Linked DNA regions of Homo sapiens: all the other regions are linked to region 3. The links are contacts of gene promoters, found by promoter capture Hi-C in blood cells and fetal thymus (Javierre and others, 2016). All regions are on one chromosome and are shown on one strand. Each heading gives the region's core, a stretch centred on a gene start or on the middle of the fragment in contact. The rest is flanking DNA. Distances are from core to core; before and after follow the strand shown.

The links. The method cuts DNA at HindIII sites, captures the fragments that hold promoters and counts their contacts. A CHiCAGO score of 5 or more calls a contact.
Region 1: a fragment that was not itself captured here is called in contact with the fragment with the promoter of SLC36A3 in region 3 in 1 of 17 cell types (M2 macrophages); the score reaches 5.6 in M2 macrophages.
Region 2: a contact is called between a fragment that was not itself captured here and the fragment with the promoter of SLC36A3 in region 3, in 1 of 17 cell types (total B cells). The highest score is 8.8, in total B cells.

The regions. Positions count from the first base shown.
Region 1 is chr5:151,444,140-151,446,839 of GRCh38, forward strand. It overlaps a transcript of SLC36A1 not described here. Among named protein-coding and RNA genes, the nearest start is that of SLC36A1, 2.1 kb to the right of the region's middle. The HindIII fragment of the contact is 779 bases long and covers 902-1,680 here.
Region 2 is chr5:151,055,830-151,058,529 of GRCh38, forward strand. TNIP1 (TNFAIP3 interacting protein 1) reads right to left here. Exons shown (of 18, transcript NM_006058.5): 6 at 937-1,128. Among named protein-coding and RNA genes, the nearest start is that of TNIP1, 24 kb to the right of the region's middle. RefSeq lists an enhancer at 476-1,002. The HindIII fragment of the contact is 3,905 bases long and covers 1-2,700 here.
Region 3 is chr5:151,302,478-151,305,177 of GRCh38, forward strand. SLC36A3 (solute carrier family 36 member 3) reads right to left here and starts at 1,289. Exons shown (of 10, transcript NM_181774.4): 1 at 750-1,289. The coding sequence starts at 877. The HindIII fragment of the contact is 21,144 bases long and covers 1-2,700 here.

The DNA.
Region 1 (2,700 bases), core at 41-2,540, 140 kb after region 3:
ACTATTCAGGGTCTTTTGTGGTCTCATGCAAATTTTAGGATTGTTTCTTATATCTCAGTAAAGAATGCCGTTGGGATTTTGATAGGGATTGCATTGAATCTGTATATTGCTTTGGATAGTATGGACATTTCCACAATGTTAATTCTTCTGATCCATGTGCATGGGATATCTTTTCATTTATTTGTGTCTTCTTCAATTTATTTAATCATTGTTTTATAGTTTTCAGTGTACACCCTATTCATGTCCTTGGTTAAATTGATTATTGAGTATTTTTTAATGCTATCACAAATAAAATCATTCTCTTTATTTCTTTTTTAGGTAGGTAATTATTTGTGTATAAAAATATTATTGATTTTTTAATTTTTTTTTGAGATGGAGTCTCACTCTGTCACCCAGGCTGAAGGGGCGCGATCTCAGCTCACTGCAACCTCCGCCTCCCAGGTTCAAACAATTCTCCTGCCTCAGCCTCTCAAGTAGCTTGGACTACAGGCATGCACCACCATGCTGGGCTGACTTTTGTATTTTTAGTAGAGACAGGGTTTCACCATGTTGGCCAAGCTAGTCTTGAACTCCTGACCTCAGGTGACCCACTGCCCTGGCCTCCCAAAGTGCTGGGATTACAGGCATGAGCCACTGAGCCCAGTCATGTATGTTGATTTTTATGTCCTGAAAATTTACTAAATTCATGAATTATAACAGTATTTTTTTAATCTTTGGGGTTTTCTACATATAGGATGATGTCACCTGCAGATAAAGATAATTTTACTTTTTTCTTTCTGATTTGGATGCCTTTCTTTCTTTTGCTTTTTTGGCTGATTGCTCTTGCTAGTACTTCCAGTACTATGTTGAATAGAAGTGGTGAGGGTGGGTATCCTTGACTGCTACTGGATCTTGGTGGAAAAGCTTTCAGTTTTTCCCTATTAATTAAAATGTTAACTGTGTGTTTTTCATAAACGACCTTATTATGTTGAGGAATGTTCTTTCTATACCTAAACTATTGAGAGTTTTTTTTTATCAAGAAGGTATGTTGGGGTGGGGGTTAGGGAAGGAAAAGATGTTGGACTTTGTCAAATGCTTTTGCCAGGCCAATTGAGATAACCATGTGGTTTTCATTTTTCATCCTGTTAATATGATGTATTATATTGCTTGATTAGTGTATGTTAAACCAGCCTTGCATGCCAGGGATAAATCCCACTTGGTCATGATACATAATTTTTTTGATTGTTGTTGAATTCTGTTTGCAAATATTTTATTGAGGATTTTGTACCAATGTGCATTAGCGAAATCAGCCTGTAATTTTCTTTTCTTGTGGCGTCTTTCTCTGGCTTAGGTATCAAGGTGATGCTGGCCTCATAAAATGTGTTTGGAAGTATTCCCTCTAGCTCCATTTTTTGGAAGAGTTTAGTAACAAACCTTCTTCTTTGAATGTTTGGTAGAAGTCAGCTGTGAAGCCATCTGGTCTTGTTGGGAAGTTTAAACAGAAAACCAGAAAGTCAGATAGTCCCTGTCTCATCTTCAATCTCTTTATTTGTTATTAGTCTGTTCAGGCTTTCCATTTCTTCCTGATTTCAATCTTGGTAGGTTGTATTTTTCTAGGGATTTCTCCATTTCATCTGGGTTATCCAATATGTTGGCAAATAATTGTTCACAATAGCCCCATATGATTCTTTTTATTTCTGAAGCTTCTGTTGTAGTGTCTTCACTTTCATTTTTTATTTTATTAGTCTTCTTTTTTTTCTTAGACTAGCAAAGGGTACGTCAATTTAATTTTTTCCAAAAAATCAACTCTAGTTTTATTGATTTTGTCTGTTTTTTTTTCTGTTGTCTATTTGATTTATTTCTGTTCTGCTCTTTCTTTTCTTCTTTTAACTTTGGGTCTTGTGAGCTCTTCTTTTTCCAGTTTCCTGAGGTATAATGTTAAACTATTTAATTGGTCTCTTTCTTCTCTTTTAATGTAGGCATTTATTGCTATAAACTTCTCTCTTAGAACTACTTTTGCTGCATTCCATAAGCTTTGGTATGTTATGTTTCCATTGTCAATTGTCTGAAAATATTTTTTAAATTTCCCGTTTGATTTCATCTTTGACCCACTGGTTGTTTCGAAGCATAGGACTGGGTATGGTGGCTCACACCTATAATCTCAGCACTTTGGGAGGCCGAGGTGGGCAGATCACCTGAGGTCAGGAGTTTGAGACCAGCCTGACCAACATGGTGAACCTCGTCTCTACTAAAAATACAAAATTAGTCGCGCGTGGTGGCACGTGCCTGTAATCCCAGCTACTTGGGAGGCTGAGACAGGAGAATCGCTTGAATCCAGGAGGCAGAGGTTGCAGTGAGCCAAGATTGCACCACTGCACTCCAGATGGGGCAATAAGAGCGCAACTTTGTCTCAAAGAAAAAAAAAAGCGTGTTGTTTAATTTCCACATATTTGTGAATTTTCCAAGATTCCTCCTGTCATTGATTTCTAGCTTCATATTATTATGGTCTGAAAGAATATTAATATGATTTCAATCTTCTTAAATTTAAGGCTTGTTTTTTGGACTAGCATATGGTCTATTCTAGAGAATGTTTCAAGTGTGTTAGAGAAAAAATGTGTATTCTGTTTCTGTTGAATGGAAAGTTCTGTATATATCTGTTAGGTTCATTTGGTTTAAAGTGCAATTCAAGTTCATTATTTCCTTATTTTCTCTCTAGTTGCT
Region 2 (2,700 bases), core at 75-2,574, 250 kb before region 3:
AAGGTGGCGGGCACTCAGATCACGAGCAGTCCCTCAGAAGCCTCCGTTTTGCCATCTTTAGAATGGTCACCAATTATAACTGAACACTTCCCCGCTGCTAAAGCCCACAAGGCTAAGACCCCCTGCCCAGTGTGGATGCCCGTCATGAACTCCGAATGGGGACCTCTCTTCCAGCATGGACTAGGTTCTGGACTGCACTGGGTGCTTCATGTACATGGCCTCATTTAATGCAGCAATCTAACCATGGAGGCACTTCTAGCTCATGTTACTGATAGGAACATTGGGGGATAGAGAGGATAAGTGACTTGTCCAAGGTCATACAGCAATAAAGGGTCACTACTGGAACCAAGGACCATATAACTCCAAGGTCTGGCCTGGCCTAGCAAGGAAATCTGTCCATTCCCCACAGCACAGGGAGGCTTTCAAAAGGAATTCAATAGGGGAGGCAGGTTGGGATGGTGGTCAAGAGTATGGGCTTTGGAATGCGAGAGATCGAGGTTCCAATCCCTACTTCACCATTTACCAGCTGGGTGACCTTGGGCAAAAAAAGGGCTGCTTCCCCACCTGTGAAGTGGTGATAATGAGGGTGCCTACCCTGGGGGGAAAGAGGCATTATGAAAGGAGTTGACCTTTGTTCCCTCCCTTCCCATCCCCCAACCCTGCACATGAGAAATAAAGGCAGGGCTGCTGGGGGTATCCCCAACCATGACACTCGCATTGCCCATCCCGTATTTCCCCATTTCCTTCCTCTTCCTCATCCCTCCCCACAACTTCCTTATCCTGTTCATCACCCTGAACAAAAAGCCCGAAGTCTGCCCACAACACAGCCTTCAGAAGTCCCCATGGTACCAGTGGATTCCCAGGAGCAGGAAGGTGGGAAGAGCTCGGGGGGAAGCACGCCTGCCTGTCTCGGGCTGCCCTCCCCACGCGCCTCACCTGCAGAATGGAGGTGCGCTGCTCATTCTTGTGCACCTTGGATGCCAGTCGGTTGAACTCCAGGGCCATGCGGCCCAGGTGGGTGAAGAGCTGGCCGTGGTCCGGCTCCTCGGCACACACACTCAGCGTGGTCTCCAGGCGCTGCAGGTGCAGCATCAGGTTGCCGTCCTCACGGGGCAGGGGGCCCAGCGCCTGGAGAGGGAAAGGGCACACGGCCCACTCTTCACCAAGGCCTGAGTAGGCGCCGCCAGTCCATTCTCCCTCTGCTTCCTCATTTCTCATGACTCAGTTTCCCCCTGTGACCCCAGCTCAGCCCCGGGAAATTCTCCAGTTATGCAGGTTCCCTGTCTGGGGCTGACTCACAGGGCAGAACCCAGGACTCACAGGCCACTGGTGGCTCCACAGCAGCGGGGCCACCATCCTCCCACACACTGGGCCTTGCAGAGTGCCTGACAGTAAGTCACTTGTCTGCTGGACCTCAGCATCCTCATCTACCAAATGTCCGCACAACCCTTCCCTCCCTTCAACCTCACAGGGTTCTTAGGAGGATGAATTGACCCCTGACAGTAACAAGCCCAGAAAAGGGACATCACTGCACAGTCAGCCCTCCATATCCATGGGTTCCGCATCCATGGATTCAACCAACTGCAGATCAAAAATCTTCTAAAAAAACAAACTGGCCGGGCGCGATGGCTCACGCCTGTAATCCCACCACTTTGGGAGGCTGAGCGGGCAGATCACAAGGTCAGGAGATCAAGACGGCCTGAGTGGTGAAACCCTGTCTCTACTAAAAATACAAAAATTAGCTGGGCATGGTGGCACGTGCCTGTAATCCCAGCTACTTGGGAGGCTGAGGCAGGAGAACTATTTGAACCAGGGAGTCGGAGGTTGCAGTGAGCAGAGATCGCACCACAGCACTCCAGCCTGGGCAACAGAGCAAGATTCCGTCCCAAAACAAACAAACAAAAAACTGTATTGAACATGTACAGAATTTTTTTCTTGTCATTATTCCCTAAACAATACAGTATACCAAAATTTAGCATTTACATTGTATTAGGTATCGTAAGTAATCTAGAGATGATTTAAAGTATATAGGAGGATGTGTATAGGTTATAGGGAACTACTACGCCATTTTACATCAGGGACTTGAGCATCCATGGATTTTGGGTATCCTCAGGGAGTTCTGGAACCACTCTCCCATGTTTACCAAGGGACATCTGCATATACGTCCTGCAACCTCCGCCTCCTGGGTTCAAGCGATTCTCCTGCCTCAGGCTCCTGAGGAGCTGGGATTACAGGTGTGCACCACTACACCAAGCTAATTTTTGTATTTTTAGTTGAGACGGGGTTTCACCACAATGGCCAGGCTGGTCTTGAACTCCTGACCTCAGGTGATCCACCCACCTCGGCCTCCCAAAGTACTGAGATTACAGGCGTAAGCCACCATGCCTGGCCTACACATGTGTCTTCTGGGGAATGGCCCAAGCATTCATCAGCTTCTGAGGACCCAAGACTCAAAACAGTTTAAGGAACCACAGCTTTAGCTATTTCAGAAAGTCCCAAACTAGTACAGTATGTAAGAAATAAAGCACACCGTGGGCCAGATAGTTGACTCTTTCTCTCTAGTCTATCTGGAATACTCCTACCAAAGACATTGCCTTTGTTACACCAATTCCACTCCCAAGGACCTGCAGTGTTACCCTACTGCAGACGGCACTGGGCCCAGCTCCCCTGCTGGGCATCTAAGGCCCTACAGCCGCAGGT
Region 3 (2,700 bases), core at 39-2,538:
ACCAAACACTGCATGTTCTCACTTGTAAGTGGGAGCTGAACAATGAGAACACATGGACACAGGGAGGAGAACAAGACAAACACTGGGGCTGGTTGGGGGTGGGGGGCAGGGGATGGGAGAGCATCAGGATAAATAGCTAAGGTATATGGGGCTTAATACCTAGGTGATGGGTTGATAGGTACAGCAAAACCACTATGACACACGTTTACCTATGTAACAAACCCGCATGTCCTGTACATGTATCCTGGAACTTAAAATTAAATTAAATTTAATTTAATTAAAAAAAAAGAGAGAAGAGTTCCATGTGTCTGAGTTTGGGGCAGTAAAGGTGGAGACATGGGGTTAGCACCTTTTGTTTTCTGGATGGATGGCATGGGGGGTTGGGGAGAAGAGGCAGAGAGAATAATGGCAGATGTGTGAGGAGAAGAAGGCAGCCAGAGACTGTGGAAGAAAGAAAGGGAGGAAGGAAAGGGCAGACAGCCTGAGATAGGAAACTGTTCCTGGAGACAAGCTGCTCATGTTGAGGGTGGCTGCTCTAGCTGGGTTCTTCGTAAAAACTGGGAAACAGGGCTAGTAGCCAGAGCCACAGGGATTGACCTCCTTAGATTCTGAAGGTTTCATCTTTTATCCACGCATATCGTGTTAATGGAATAAGCGTGTTAAGGAGATAGATGAAGGAAGACATAGTCCAGAGTTGCAAAAACAGCAGTGCTTGACCTCAGGCCTGGAAGGGCGGTGCGGCCACTTACGATAGTCCAGCTTCTCCAGCAGGATGGACATTCTCTGAAGTAATGCTACTGCTGCTCTCTGAGGGTGACTGAGGTCCGTTGTCCAAGGAGTTCAGCTCACTGTTGTAGTCCCTTCCAAGCAATGACATCTTCAACACGGTGGGTAGGTGGCAGAGGCTCAGGGTTAAGGCTCTGAATGAGCCTCTGATGGGTCTTTCTCCAGAGAAACCATGGCTGCTGACCTGAGATGCTGGCTCCTAACCCCAAGGATGCGTGCTGCTGGCTGAAGCCTGAAGTGCATGAATCAGGGAAGCGGTGGTGGCAGGAGAGGCTGATGTTGATGATGCCTCACCTGGCTCTTGGGGGACTTATGAAAGACCCATCTCAGTCAGGATGGTCCTCAGTTTCACTCGCAATTGCTTGCCCAACCAGGACTTGCCTGGGCTTTTGGCCTCTCCTAGTTTAGCCCTTGCTGCTGTAGGGCAAAGTGAACAGTGTGACTGGGAGGAAGAAGACACCATTGGATTGGAGGTCCTGGTGCCTGGACGTGGGGCCAGGCTCAGTGCTTGTCTGTCTTTGGCAAGGAAAAAACCAGAGCTACCTCACAATGGAGGCTGCCCAGCCAATGAGCTGCAGCAGAATCCTGGGATGCAGATGTGGCCCAACAGAACATAATCCAGCTACCATGTTCCCTGTTTGGGGTGAAGAGTGGCTTGTAAGGCCCAGTTCAAATGCCACCTGCTCAGAATTTCTATACAGGAGGCGTATGGCCTGCCAGTGATTTGGAAGGGAGTGCAGGTCATGTTTAAAAAAAATCATTTGTTCAGAAAATATTTATTGAGCATCTAATATATGCTAGAAACTGTTCTCCATGCTGGGAATATATTAGGGTAGAAAACTTACTACAATCTCTGTTCTCATGGAATTTACAATCTGGAGGGGCTGGGGGAGACAGACAATAAACGAAACAAATATATCAAGTATCTGTTAGTAAAAAGCGGTATAGAGAAAATCCAGGCAAGGGTAATGGAGAGTTTCAGCTAGGGGGAGGGTCGCAATTTTAGATTGGGTGATCAGAGAGGGCCTCACCTAGAAAGTGACATTTGGGCAAAGGGCTGAACAAGATGAGGGAACACAACTCATGTAGGTCTTGGGTAAGAAACTCCTAGCAGAGGGGCAAGAAGTGCAAAGGTCCTGAGGCAGGAGAGTGCCTGGGGTGTTTTAGGAATGGCAATGAGGTCATATGGCTATCTGGGAGCACACAGAGGAGAATGGATTCGCCTGGTTTGTGCCTATTGCCCTGGCATAATTACTAATGGTGCCTCCCTTCATTATTAAAAGTATCCTGCAGCTGAGCGAGGTGGTGCACACTTGTAGACCCAACTACTCGGGAGGCTGAAATGGGAAGATCGATTGAGGCCAGCCTGGGAAACCACCCTAAAAATGAAATAAAATAGGCCACGCTCAGTGGCTCACACCTAAAATCCCAGCAATTTGGGAGGCCGAGGTGGGCAGATCACCTGAGGTCAGGAGTTAGAGACCAGCGTGGCCAACATGGTAAAACCCCATCTCTACTAAAAATATAAACATTAGCCGAGCTTGGTAGCATGTACCTATAGTTCCAGCTACTTGGGAGGCTGAGGCAGGAGAATCACTTGAACCTGGGAGGTGGAGGTTGCAGTGAGCGGAGATCGCACCATTGCACTCCAGCCTGGGTGACAAGAACAAAATTCCATCTCAAAAAAAAAATAAAATAAAATAAAAAGAGATATCCTGGTTTGGATGATAATTACATGGTCACACCAGAGATGTGGTTAAAGAGGTAATGAAAGCGGGATGGAGTGGGTGGGCAGGATCTTGTAGGCTATTGTAACAACTTTGGATTTTACTTTAAGAGAGATGAGAAATCATGGAGGGTTCTGAGCAGAGAAATGACATGACTTAAACATTTTGACAGGATGTCTCTGGCCAT